Regions from separate parts of the Homo sapiens genome. Here region 1 is linked to region 2. The links are contacts of gene promoters, found by promoter capture Hi-C in blood cells and fetal thymus (Javierre and others, 2016). All regions are on one chromosome and are shown on one strand. Each heading gives the region's core, a stretch centred on a gene start or on the middle of the fragment in contact. The rest is flanking DNA. Distances are from core to core; before and after follow the strand shown.

Region 1 (6,048 bases), core at 3,376-5,875, 540 kb before region 2:
GCCTCAGCCTCCTAAGTAGCTGGGATTATAGGCACTTGCCACGATGCCCGGCTAATTGGCTTTTTTTGTATTTTTAGTAGAAACGGGGTTTCACCATGTTGGCCAGGCTAGACCTCAGGTAATCCACCCACCTTCGCCTCCCTAAGTGCTGGGATTACAGGCATGAGCCACTGCACCCAGCCAAGATTTGAGAATCTCACAGGTTAACGGGTAAGGTTTGAAACAGATTAGTACTATCATCAACTGTCGCTTTCAGTGGGCAATTTAGATACTGGTTTATTTTGCTATTAAAATGAAATTTGGTAATTGGATTTTCTTAGGCTAGGAACAAAACTCATATTTTATTATATAACTTTTGTTAAAAGTTCTATCACCAAGAAAAGAATGTCAAAATATAATCTAATGGCCTTGATAGACAGGCTAAAATAATAAATAATAGGCGATTTTTGAAATAATTTGGATGATCTTCCTCCTCCTTCTGTTTTTTGCTTGTGAAACGATGTGAATGATCGCAGATTGTAGTTTAACCATGCTGAAACTAGTTCTAATAACAGTATATAGAATTGTTATGAAAATTAAATAAAACAATGTATATGTACAGCACTTACTATAGAACTTGGACCCATAGTGTCCAACATTGATTATTACTATTACATGCTCTCAAATATTGGCCCCTTCAGATAATCTTTTATTTTGCTGCTGCTTATTTTGAGCCCTTGCTGAAAATATTTTTGGAATTTGAAATTTTAGATTCCTTTAGATCCTGAGGCATTCTCTTAAATATCCTTAGTTGTAAAGGTAAATTTGTATTATATAAACACCCAAAAGTCTGAGTTTGTTTAGTAAGTAAAAAGCCAAATAATTACCATTTTTGTTTCTTTGGGCAAGTTGGGTACAGACCCCAAGAGAGGCAGCCTAAATTTTCAGGTTGACAGAATGCTTTGGAGACACGTATCACAAAGGAGGTTATATTTATCCAGGTCTTAAAGAAAAAGTAAGAATTTGCTAGAATTTTCTAGAACGATAAGGAAACAGTATCTTTTAGCAGAAGAATTCTTATGGCAGTATAAAGAATGAAGAGAAATGGGAAATGTTGGGGAGATATTTTTATGTAATTGAAAAGTAGAGTAAGGGAAGGGAGGGTAAATTTGTAGGAAATTATGTCAGAAAGGCAAAAAGACCAGTTAAGATGCACTCATAGTGACAAAGGAGGAAGGAAAAAATAGGTTGGATATTAGAATACTGTACTTTGTGAAAAGGAAATAGAATAATTCTCAGGTGTCAGATGGCTGGATTTTTCCAACATCCTGGTAACTGATTTTCACACCACCTCTCTACTCCTCCTCCAGTCCATTTTTTATACTGCCCTTAGTGGTACATTTCTTAAAACAGCCTTTGTTTTTGTCAGTTTGCTCTGACTCTTTCCTGCCTACAAATTAAAATTCCGACTTACTATCTTGATGTAACAAGCCCTTTACCATCTGTGTCAAATATACAGTCTTTTATAGTTGCCCATAAGTTCAATTTCAAACCTTTTTTTAATTGCATTCTTATACCTACCCTCACTGAATTTGTCACTCTTTGAAATATGTCTTTATTCCTTTGTTCCTGAAAGTCACTCATTGAAATGCACCTTTTCCCAAGCAAATTTTTACTGTATTCAAAATTTAGTATATCCTCCATGAAATTTATTACCTTTTCTCCCAAGGATTTCTTAACAATTATTCAGATCTTTTCATAGCATTTCACAGATGATTTGATATTTGTTTTTACATCTTTTTCACTAAACTGAGAGTTGCCAATGTCTGTGTGTATGTGTGTTTTTAATACAAATATCCGGATAGTGCATATTTTAGGCTTTGTGGGCCACAGAATATCTCTTGTAACTACTTAACTCTGCCATTGTCGTGGGAAAGTGACCATAGGCAGTACATAAATTAGTATGTCTATGTTACAGTAAAACTTTATTTACCAAAACAGTGGGCTGTATTGGGAAATCGTTCGCCAATCCCTGCATTAAATTGTTCTGACCCAAGTACTTTGTTAAAAAATTTATGAATGAAAGATTGTTAAAAAATTTATGAATGAAAGATATTTACACATTCATCCATTGTAATACATGACCTCACTGTCTAGTAAGTGAACATATAAGCAGAAAAAAATATACCACAAAGATACGTGCTGAAATGGAGAAAAGCAGACATTGCCATGAAACCACAATGAAAGGACAGTATGGGAGAGAATTAGCGCAATTTATAGCAGTAAAAGAAGAGAGAAAAGTTCGAAAGTAACAGATTTTGGTCCAAAGAGATGTCTTGAGAGTTCTTTATTGAGGATAGAAGAATCTTGTTAGTTGTGCTACCTTTTTAGTGTTGTGTCTAAATAAGACAACTTTTAGATGTCTATTCTCTCATGTGTGGCACTCTTGAATTCTAGCCTTTATTGAAAAGTACATAGGCTTTTACCCAAACTAACTTATTACTTGTTTTTTTAATTTTTATTTTTATTTTTAAAATTACAAATATATATAATGCTTTCATATAGTAGGTGTTCAGTAAAAGTAGAATAAATGTTGGTTTTAAAAGAACCTTGCAGTGTGAAGATTTGCCAGAGATTGTCTATGTAAGTATAACATTTATATTCAGAACAAATAGTTTTAATTTTGTGTCATTTCTAGGTGCTTTGTAACAGAGCCAGACTGGTTTCCTATCTCCCAGGATTTTGCTCTTTAGTTAAAAGGGTTGTCAATCCCAAAGCCTTTTCGACTGCAGGATCATCAGGTTCGGATGAGTCTCATGTGGCTGCTGCACCTCCAGATATATGTAAGTGAAAGTTGTTACTGCTTTACTTATAATTGTTTCAAAACATTTTTAGTTGTATTTTCCTCTAATATTTCTTCTTAAGGCTTAATGGATTTTTCTAAAGTTGTGTTTGTTCAGTTGAAAATGAATCACAGCTCTGCCTAAATATATTTATGTCAGAAAGCTACAGTATTGAAAAAAGAGTAAGTACTGGTTTCTAAAGCTTACTTCTTAAACTTTTCTTTCTGTCTTCAAACATAGAGTCTTCCCTGAAACAAATCTCCTTTTGGTCCTGTTAAACCATATTATTATTTCTTCCCATTCTTTGCTAGATTTCATAAATGTACCTTGTACTTTTTATGTGTTAGTGTTTATTGAACTTACCTGCTTTCTACAAAGTCTGTTTCTTCTAACCTGTTTGGTACACCACTACCATGCTAATCATTCTAAATTATTTTAACCATGTCCCTTTCTTGAAAAACCTGTTATCTTTCATTGCTTTCAGCAGTAGTTCCCAGACTACCTTCAAGCCATGAAGCTTTGTTCAAGGTTAAAAAGAAAAAGTGGGGGTAGGGGGATAGTCTCTGTGGTAGGTAAGTTTGAGAAATGCTACATGCCATATTCCTGCCTTGGAGGCTTATAAGGCACACTAAAATATTAAAGACTCTTAGAAACTTAACCTAATGTGTCCTAAAGATATTGGACATGGAATCCTTTTTTCATGGCACACATTACTTACAACGTAATTTAAGTTCACTTGAGCATTCAGAGCCTTCCATCCTGCCCAAGTTTTCTAACTCTCTGACTACTCCCCAATTTACATCACCTAAAGACTAACCATATATTTATAATAAATGAAAGATTTTGCCATTCAAATTATATAAGATGTTAGTATCTGGAATATATAAAGAATTTATAATAGATCAATAGGAAAAGATAACCCAACAGAAAATCAGAAAACAAAAGGACATGAATAGGCCTTTCACAGAAAACAAAACCTAAAATGACCAGTAAACATATGGTCAAATCCACTGCCCAAATCTACTATTAATATGGGATGCTTGTTTTCTGTAAAGAGAATCTAGGGATTGTTAGACTTTTAAAAACCATCTTGTTCAAAAATAGCTAACAGGTTTTCTCTTGGGAAGTGACTTGAGTAGTCATTAGTGGCTGTCTAGATAGAGCCTTGTTATTCAACATGATCTGCATCAGTATCATTTAGGAGCTTGTTAGAAATACAAAATCTTGAGCCCCACTCCAGACCTATTAAATCAGAATCTGCATTTAAACTAGATCCCAGATGTATCTTAAGTACATCTTTAGAGTTTGAGGGGCACTGGACTAGAGTGTTTATGTTGAGAATCTTGAGACGTTGTCTGGGTTCAGCAGGAAATGGTTCCATGATTGATGGGTGATGTATGTCCTAAGTGTGGAAGAGGGATATGGTGGCTCATGATCCAGGAATGAGACAGCCATGCTGACATGGCCATTCTCAGTTACTTAGTTCTCTGACAGGATATTTTTAAATATCTATTTTTATTGCTAAGTAATATGCATAGCAGTTGTCCCTCTGTTTCTCTAAGCCCAGATCTCTACTCTGAGTAATTATTAGTTTAATTTTCTACTTTATTCTTTTCTGAATCTTTCTGAATTTTTTATAAGTTAGGATTTTTTTTAAAGTTTTAAGTGAATAAAGTAATGTGGTCTGTTCTATATTTGCAATCCATATTAACTCATGTGGCTGGTAAACAGAGCATTAGGTCATGTGATGCATGATTTTTTTTCCCGTTCGTATTTTGTGCCACCAGATAACAGCAGCAGAATGCCCCTCCCCAGACGACCATTACTAAGTTTCATTTTAGATCTTCTCTTTACTTAAAAACATGGGCCTGGCACAGTGGCTCATGACTGTAATCCCAGCACTTTGGGAGGCTGAGGGAGGAGGAGACCTTGTGTCTACCAAAAATAAACAAAATTAGCTGGGCATAGTGGTGTGCACCAGTGATCCCAGCTACTTGGGAGGCTGAGGTGGACCTCAGAGGTCAAGGCTTCAGTGAGCTGCGATCACACCACTGTACTGCAAGAGACCCGTCTCAAAAACAAAACAATACGTGAATATGGGGATGTAAATAAATGTTATTATACATGCTGTTCTTTGACTTAGCTTTTTCTTTTAACGCATTGTATCCTGGATTTCATTCAGTGTCAGTATGTAAAGGTTTATTGTCTTCTTTTTAATGACATTCAAGCATTTCTTAGTATGGATTAGAGTATTTTATTCAGTCTTTCCCCTAATAACGGACTTGCCTGTGATCTGTCAATCAGTTGCTTTGATTAGTGTTTTGGAAACAATAGGAAACTATTTATATTCACATGGGAAAGCAGATTTTGAAGATCTTTTAGATAAAAATATACATAATTTTAAGAAGAGCATTCTTTCAGTCTACCAATATACTTGACTATTAAGGAGAAACTGTTCCTTTTGTTGTTTCTCTTCAGGCTCTCGAACAGTGTGGCCTGATGAAACTATGGGACCCTTTGGACCTCAAGATCAGAGGTTCCAGCTTCCTGGGAACATAGGTTTTGATTGTCACCTCAATGGGACTGCTTCACAGAAGAAAAGCCTGGTTCATAAAACTTTGCCTGATGTTCTAGCAGAACCTTTATCAAGTGAAAGACATGAGTTTGTGATGGCACAATATGTGAATGAATTTCAGGTAAATTGTTGGTAACATTTATTGTGCTTTCCTGATTATTAATGCTATATGACTTGATTATTATAAGCATATTACTTTTGTTGAAAAAGTAAAAAATCAATTTAATTCCAGTACATGTATATACAAAAACAGCATATATAGCTTTGGAAAACTTGGCATTGTCCTCTACAAAGTGTTTGCTATATAATTTTTTTACTGTAGATTATAATATTTTTAAAATATTTCTTGAAAAGTATGTTTTTAAGTAACTACTCTAGATATACATAATGTAATTACATCTGTAGACTGGAAATTTAGGTTCCCTGTTTTTCATTTTTAATAAATGGCAATTAAATTTGTATATGGATCTAATTCCAACTGGTTCTGTATTCCTCTAGCCATTTAAAAGCTTAAGAAAAATTTGAGATCTCTGAAATTGTTCAGATATAGTAAAAAAAAAAAAAAGGAACCAGTTTCATAAGTTTATTTTTTCTTAAACAATTTATTAAGGTTTGTTTGGGTTTTTTTTTTTCATTTTTAAACATTTTAAA
Region 2 (6,778 bases), core at 2,469-4,968:
AGATATTGAGGATAGAGGATCATGAGAAGCGGCATCCTTGGTTGCCCAATCTGATTCCAAAAGTCCAGCACCAATGTCCACCAATGTCTACCATATAAAGCAGAAACAAAGTGCAGCACTCACTTCACATTTCAGATGAAAATAGGATACATGATTTCAAAGCAGTTCATGGTAGAGGCTGGTTTCCTACTAAATGCAACTACCAAAGTTATCGCTCTTTGGACTTAGCATCAGGAGAATTGTTTACTAGTCCAGGATCTACCATTAATTGCATCTTCACCAAGTCCCAGCCTGTTAGTTTGAAGACAGTTAACAATACTGAAACAAAGTCATGATTTAGAGCAACTAAGTGTTCTCAAGAGAGGGACAGGGAGTTTCCGGGGAAGGTAGGCAGTGGGTGCCCAGCAAAATCATATGTGAGGCTTTTCAAACTACACAGGGTTTGAAACTCTTCTGAAACTCCTCCACCCCAATCCACCCCTTGAGAATTGCCACCATAGAGTGAGCCACTGTTGCTATTACTATTGGGAGTATGGAAAACTCAGAGAAGCTTTTCCAGGTTTCAGGTGTAAGCTTGTTGAGGAATTGGACCAAGATTTACTATGCTTCTTAGTGACATCCATGGAATCTAATACAGGGTAGTCCTGTCTTTACTTACTTTTCCAACCTCAGCTCCTTTCCTCCCCTCAGCCACACCCTAGGCATCTCCCATGGTATTGGACTTCTGATTACCAATCTGTGCCAGACCTTGCATCACCTGTCCCCACCTCTGGGAGACACAGTTTGTTGCCTACCTAACAGCCCAACAGGCAGTCTCACTTTCCTCCTTGCTAACAGAATTCTGATTGTGTTCAGACATGGAGCATGGATGCTCAGGTAGGTGAGCCCCTCCTACAGCTCCGGAAAATAGCTTGGGCAAAACAATCATGGGCCCCTCTTCTCCTTTGCCAATGACTGGTTTCAGGGTAAGCGTTAGACCACTTTGGCCAGTGACGCGGGGAACTTCGGGGAAAATTTGTCCTTTATTATCTAGAGAAAGATTAAGCAGCAAGCCCCGGCCTTCTTTTTTCTGCTTTGGATGTTGTCATGTGAAGGCATGATGGAGCTCTAGTCACCCTGGAAAAAGAAGATAATTTTCTAGAAGCCACCAAAGAGCTGTGGCCACTTCGAACGACCTACCTTCAGATGTTCTAAGCAAGAAAGTAGAGTAACCTAAACATATTACAACAAAAAGTGTCCCTCTGGAATCCTACCACATGGCCTAGAATTTTTCTCCTAGACCAGCCCTTCTCATTTTCTTTTTTTTTTTTTTTTTTTTGAGACGGAGTCTTGCTCTGCTGCCCAGGCTGGAGCTCATTTTCAATTCAAAGCTCAACTACAGTTTCTTTGGGGAGTCTTCACTACGTCCCCAGACAGATGAGTCCTAGACGATGTTATCCTCATATCTGTCTTTCCAACTAGACTGTGAGCTTCTCAAAAGCAAGCATTTTCGCCCTTGGCAGAGGCCCTGGCATATGTTGAGCATTTATTATATGTCGAATGAATGAATAAACAAAAAACAATGAATGAAAAGATGGACACACAGGATGCCCTCCATGCATTAGATGAAGACTTGACTGATGGAATACGGCCCTCAGGCTGTCTACATTCTACTGCAGACTACCTTTAGGCGCTGGTGAGCAAAGACAGAGATAGTAAAATGAACATGTCCTGTTTTGTCAGACTTCTCATTGGGAATTGCGCCCCCTACCGACATGCCTTGCAGCAGAGGTGGGCCAGTCTATCAATCACAGTCGGTCATGTGCCCATTCCTGTTGTGTAAACCTCTCCCTGTCTGCTGAGATGGCTTGGTTCTGTTTTGGTCCAGTATGTCAATAAGATTGCTATAAGGGGCCGGGTGCAGTGGCTCACTCCTATAATCCCAGCACTTTGGGAGGCCAAGACGGGCAGATCACTTGAGGTTAGGAGTTCGAGACCAGCCTGGCCAACATGGTGAAACCTCATCTCCACTAAAAATACAAAAATTAGTCCCACGTGGTGGCCGGCGCCTGTAACTCCAGCTACTTGGGAGGCTGAGGCAGGATAATCGCTTGGACCTGGGAGGTGGAGGTTGCATGCAGTGAGCCGAGATCACACCACTGCACTCCAGCCTGGGTGACAGAGTGAGAGTCTGTCTCAAAAGAAAAAAAAAAAAAGAGAGAGAGAGAGAGAGACAGAGAGAGACTGCTATACGGATAGAGAAGATGGGATTCTCTCTCTCCCTCTTTGTCTCTGTCTCTCTCTCTGAAGGAGCAGATAAGCCTGAAGGTGCAAGTCCTATTTATCGTCCATACTAAGAACCAGTAAACACAGAGAGAAAAACAGCTAAGATATACAAGAGAGAGAACTAGCCCTGGAACCTTGTATGAGCCTCTGGAACTAGCTATAGCTTTAAACTGAAACCCTCGACCTTTTCATTTATGTGACCCAATCAATTTCTACATAGTATAAGGCAATTTTCAAGTGACCAAAACCCAACCCAAAGAAAACAATTCTGACAAATACGATGGGTAATGATGAGGGCAGTCTGACAACACCCCCTCCATCTGCAGGGCCCGTGCACTGGCAGCCCTAATCTTGGCCTCTGTGATGCTGTCAGCAAGTAAGGCATCCTGGAGGAAGCCTAACCATGAACAAGTCAGGGTGGGAAAGAATGCCCCCACCCCACAACACACACATCACCACATCAACACAAAGGGGGAAAAATCAAGCAGTATGCTATGTACTCCATGAACATCATATAACCTAAGTCTGTTGTAATGATTATAATATTAATAATACCTATTTTACTTTAAGGGAACTGAGGCTCAGAGCAGTTCAGTAACTTGCCCAAGGTCACACAGCTAGTTACTGGAATTTAAATAGCATTCTAGACTTTTCCCACTCTCTGATCCCCTGGCCTTGGGAGGTGGACAGCACCCCTCCACCCACCAGCTCCCCCCAAACGCCACAGGGCATACAGACCTGAAGCCTCACAACCCAAGCCCCCTGGAGTCAGAGCAGCCTCCAGACCCGGCTTTTGAGAAGCCCCAGGTAACTAACCAATGTGTAAGGTAGGTTATTCAACAACAAAAGTAAAGAGCCGGGGCAAGGGAAGCGGCGGCACCCAAGCTGGTCGCGCGTGAAGCGCTGCAGGGGGAAACACTGGAGCTGGCACGCTCGCTCTTGGCCCCACGATCGGCCTTGAACCCCAGCCCCAGCTCCGCGCTCTCTCCAGCAGTTTGACCCCCAGTATCTCCTCTCCCCTCGGCTCTGCCGAAGTCACTGGCCCCGCAGGGCTCTGGACGATTAGAGACCCACACCGCTCCAGCCTTGCCCCGGCCCCCTGCTCCCGTCCCGTCCAGATGTTGGCAGCTGCTCGCCTCGAGGCAGCGACCAGACCCCGACCCCGCCACTGCGCCGCGGCCCCGCGGCCCCGCGGCCCCGCGGCCCCGCGAGCTCCTGGCTGCCCCAGCGCGCCCAGAAGGGGCGCAGCGCATCTCCCGCCGCAGTCGCGCGGCCCCGCACTCGCTCCGGCGCGGGGTGAGCCGTCCCGAACCCACCACCGCCCCCGCCTGCTGCGCTGGCCCAGCTCACCTCGCCGCCCGCGCCCACCGAGCCTCTCGGCGCCCTCACCCGGCTCCCGGCCCAGGCTCCCAGCGCACCCGCCTGGGGCCGGCGTTGGCTGCTACCGCGCGGGGCGGGGCGCGGCTCCTCCCTGCCCTGAACCACCTGGGGCGCGGGAGGGGGCCGGGCCGGGACAGGTGAGCCTCGCCCGCGAGGGAGCAGCCCCGGGCCCGGCTCCGCTGGGAAACCGCAGGGCTCCACCACGAGGTTGAAAGGAGGCCCAGGCGGGCGGCAGTGTGGTAGTGGCCAGCGCTGGGGAGGCGGCAAGGAGCCTGTTCCCACCCAGCCAGCCCGGCTCAGGAAGTGAAAGAAGCACGGGATTCGGACCCCACCCAGCTTAAAGAGGGGAGGGTCCAACCCCTTTCTTCCTAGAAAACCAATGTAGAAACGAGGAGTGCAGACCCTCGGGAGTGAAAATGATTGGGCCAAGGGTGCAGGTGAGTTAGTTCAGGATTGGAAGAACTCTGAAAGACCTTTTTTGACCATTCCATCCAACCCCGTCCCCACCTTGCCCACCCGTCAAGTGATTCCCTCCCCCTTTTTAAATAATGACATTAAGCTATAAATAAGATAATTTCATATAGTGACGTCCTCCCCACCCCTGGACGGTAAGCCCCAGGAGAGGCAGGAACCTTACCCGTCCACTACTGAATCACCAGAGCTTTGAAAACTCAGGGCATTTAATACCTGATGAACAGACTAGGTGGCGCCCAGTCTTTTGCGTCCAGCGTTAGACTGGTCCCCTCGGCCCAGAGCTGCTCCAGCATCATTCCAAGCTTACTAGGGAGAATCCAGAGGCAAGCTGTTAGATTCCGGGCCACCTGTCCTCTCTCTACTGCTTACTCCCCACCCACTGCCAGCCAGGCAGCTGGGATGTGGGAGGTCTACACTCCCAGGGCACCTTATAGTGGTCAAGCAAATCTTTAACTTCTGAAGATGCCACAGACAGGAGAACTCTGAAATAAAACACTGTCCGGCCAGCCTTGCACTGTGGAAACACAGCTCAGAGTATGGGCCACTGACCCAAGATTCCATGGCTGGTAGCAAAGCTGATCCTGGGTCTGCATTTCTAAAGACAGTTGGCTGGTCTGGGGCCTTTGAGGGGCTGCTGGTTATGCCTGCAGTGGGGAAACCTGGGTACAGAACTTCTGCAGAAGTGGGGTCTGGGTTTGGTCCTCTGCTGAGACTTCTAATCTGTCTTTCCAGACCTCTGAGGTCAAGCATCTCCTGAGCCAGCTTGCATTTATTGAGGCCCCTGACAACCGCAAAAACAAAAACAATGGTATTTTTAGGTGTTCCATTTAACAAATGGCCTTCACTCACACACACACACACACACACACACACACACACACACACACACGAGGTAATGTGTCATGCTGCTCCTCACATGTTAATTTCAAGACTCGTTAAAAAAATCCATTCCGTGAAAAAATTCATTTCACTGCAGAAAGCACTGTACAACTTTAAAGTTGTATGGAGAACATTCCTTCTTATGACTATTTCAGTACACTTCCGTGACTATATATTAAACCTCCAAGGCCAAAATGGGAGGATCTCTATTAAGGTGAGGTCAGGGCCAAGAAGACTGCTCCACCCCTCCACTGACAACAAGCCCAACACTCTTAAGGTCTAGACACCCCACCCCTTCAGTGGGTTCTGCACATATGGGTATTTCAGATCTGGTGTTACCTGGCTGGCTACGTCACACTGGGCAAGGCCAACCTAGAAAAGGTTATATGGGATGCCCCACCTAGGTGTGCCCTACCTCAGTTGCTACTCCCTCTATGGTGGCAGGGAATCTGGTGTCCCAGGGTGGAGCTGTGGTGGGGCCTGCACTTTGGGACAGCCACTTGCACCAGCAGGTAGGGCTGAGCAAAGGAGCACCTCTGGGTCTCACTCACATGAAATGGACCTAGACCTTTTTTTGTGTTGGTTTCAGTCAGTAGAGCATGTGATCCCCTGTGATTTAAAATCCTGCTGCTGTGCGTGTGATCTTGGCTGGGCCAGCCTGCTAAGTGATGCCACCCAGACAGGCCTGAGAATCATCAGGAGGGTACAGGTTCTGCCCCAGTGCTTGCTTGCTTGCACGTGATCTCTCCCTCCCCACCCCACTCTCTCTCCTGTGCTTGCTGAGCAGCCTTGGGCATGTTCCTCAATTGTGTGTTTTTCCTACTTGGAAAATGTGCAGCCATGAAATCAGACAAGATCTCTGTTTGAAGTTTTTTGCTTAAAAGGGGTATCTGAAATAAGAAGTTCTGATACTGTTGTGTGGCTAAGTTAAATAATCCACGTAAAGTGCTTGAGCACAGCGCCAGCACAAAGCACCTGCTCAGTGAACAGTAGCTCTGCCTAGCAGTGCAAAGAGAGCCAGCCCACTTCTGATCAACATTAAAATGCTGGAAATAGGGACAAAACCACTGATAGACTTCATAAGACTCTAGAATGAATTAATTAATCTTTACAAATAACTATTTATTGCTATTCTCTACTGGTCTCTAGGAGAATGATATTTGAACTAGAAAATCTTCAGTTTCTGCTCTATCTCTAGTTCTCTGATAATATAATGAAATATAAATTATCCAAAGAAGCAACAATCCAAAAAACTTCTGAGCCTTAGGATATATTTACCTTCCTAATTTTTCCTGTCTTTACTTAGGACTCAACATGTATATTAATAATGTATATCTAGCCGGGCGTGGTGACGGGCACCTGTAATCCCAGTTACTTGGGAGGCTGAGGCAGGAGAATTGCTTGAACCCAGGAGGCAGAGGTTGCAGTGAGCCGAGATCCTGCCATTGCACTCCAGCCTGGACCACAACAGTGAAACTCCATCTCAAAAAAAATAAAATAAAATAAAAAATACTGTATATCATTTTCTGAGGACATTTTTCAATGAGACAATGTGTGTAGCATTCCTGGCACATAGTAGTGTAGCAGGACGAGTCGCAGAGAAAACTCCTCAGACACCAGATTAAAGAAGGAAGAGTTTTTTTTATTTGGCCAGGAGCATCGGCAGACTCATGTCTTAAGAGCCGAGCTCCCCGAAAAAGAAATTCCTGGCCCTTTTAAGGGCTTACAACTCTAAGGGGTCTACATGAAAAAGTCATAATAGATCAAGTAAGCGTGAGGA

The links. Contacts are between HindIII fragments. The CHiCAGO score rates a contact against its expected background, and 5 or more counts as called.
Region 1: a fragment that was not itself captured here is called in contact with the fragment with the promoter of LYPD6B in region 2 in 2 of 17 cell types (M2 macrophages and monocytes); the score reaches 6.6 in M2 macrophages.

The regions. Positions count from the first base shown.
Region 1 is chr2:149,578,901-149,584,948 of GRCh38, reverse strand. It overlaps MMADHC (metabolism of cobalamin associated D), which reads left to right. Exons shown (of 8, transcript NM_015702.3): 3 at 2,678-2,822; 4 at 5,301-5,518. Among named protein-coding and RNA genes, the nearest start is that of MMADHC-DT, 5.4 kb to the left of the region's middle. The HindIII fragment of the contact is 2,567 bases long and covers 3,342-5,908 here.
Region 2 is chr2:149,035,639-149,042,416 of GRCh38, reverse strand. It overlaps LYPD6B (LY6/PLAUR domain containing 6B), which reads right to left and starts at 3,718. Exons shown (of 7, transcript NM_177964.5): 1 at 3,616-3,718. RefSeq lists enhancers at 3,226-3,285, 3,326-3,375, 4,589-4,648 and silencers at 3,456-3,615, 3,626-3,965. The HindIII fragment of the contact is 3,848 bases long and covers 576-4,423 here.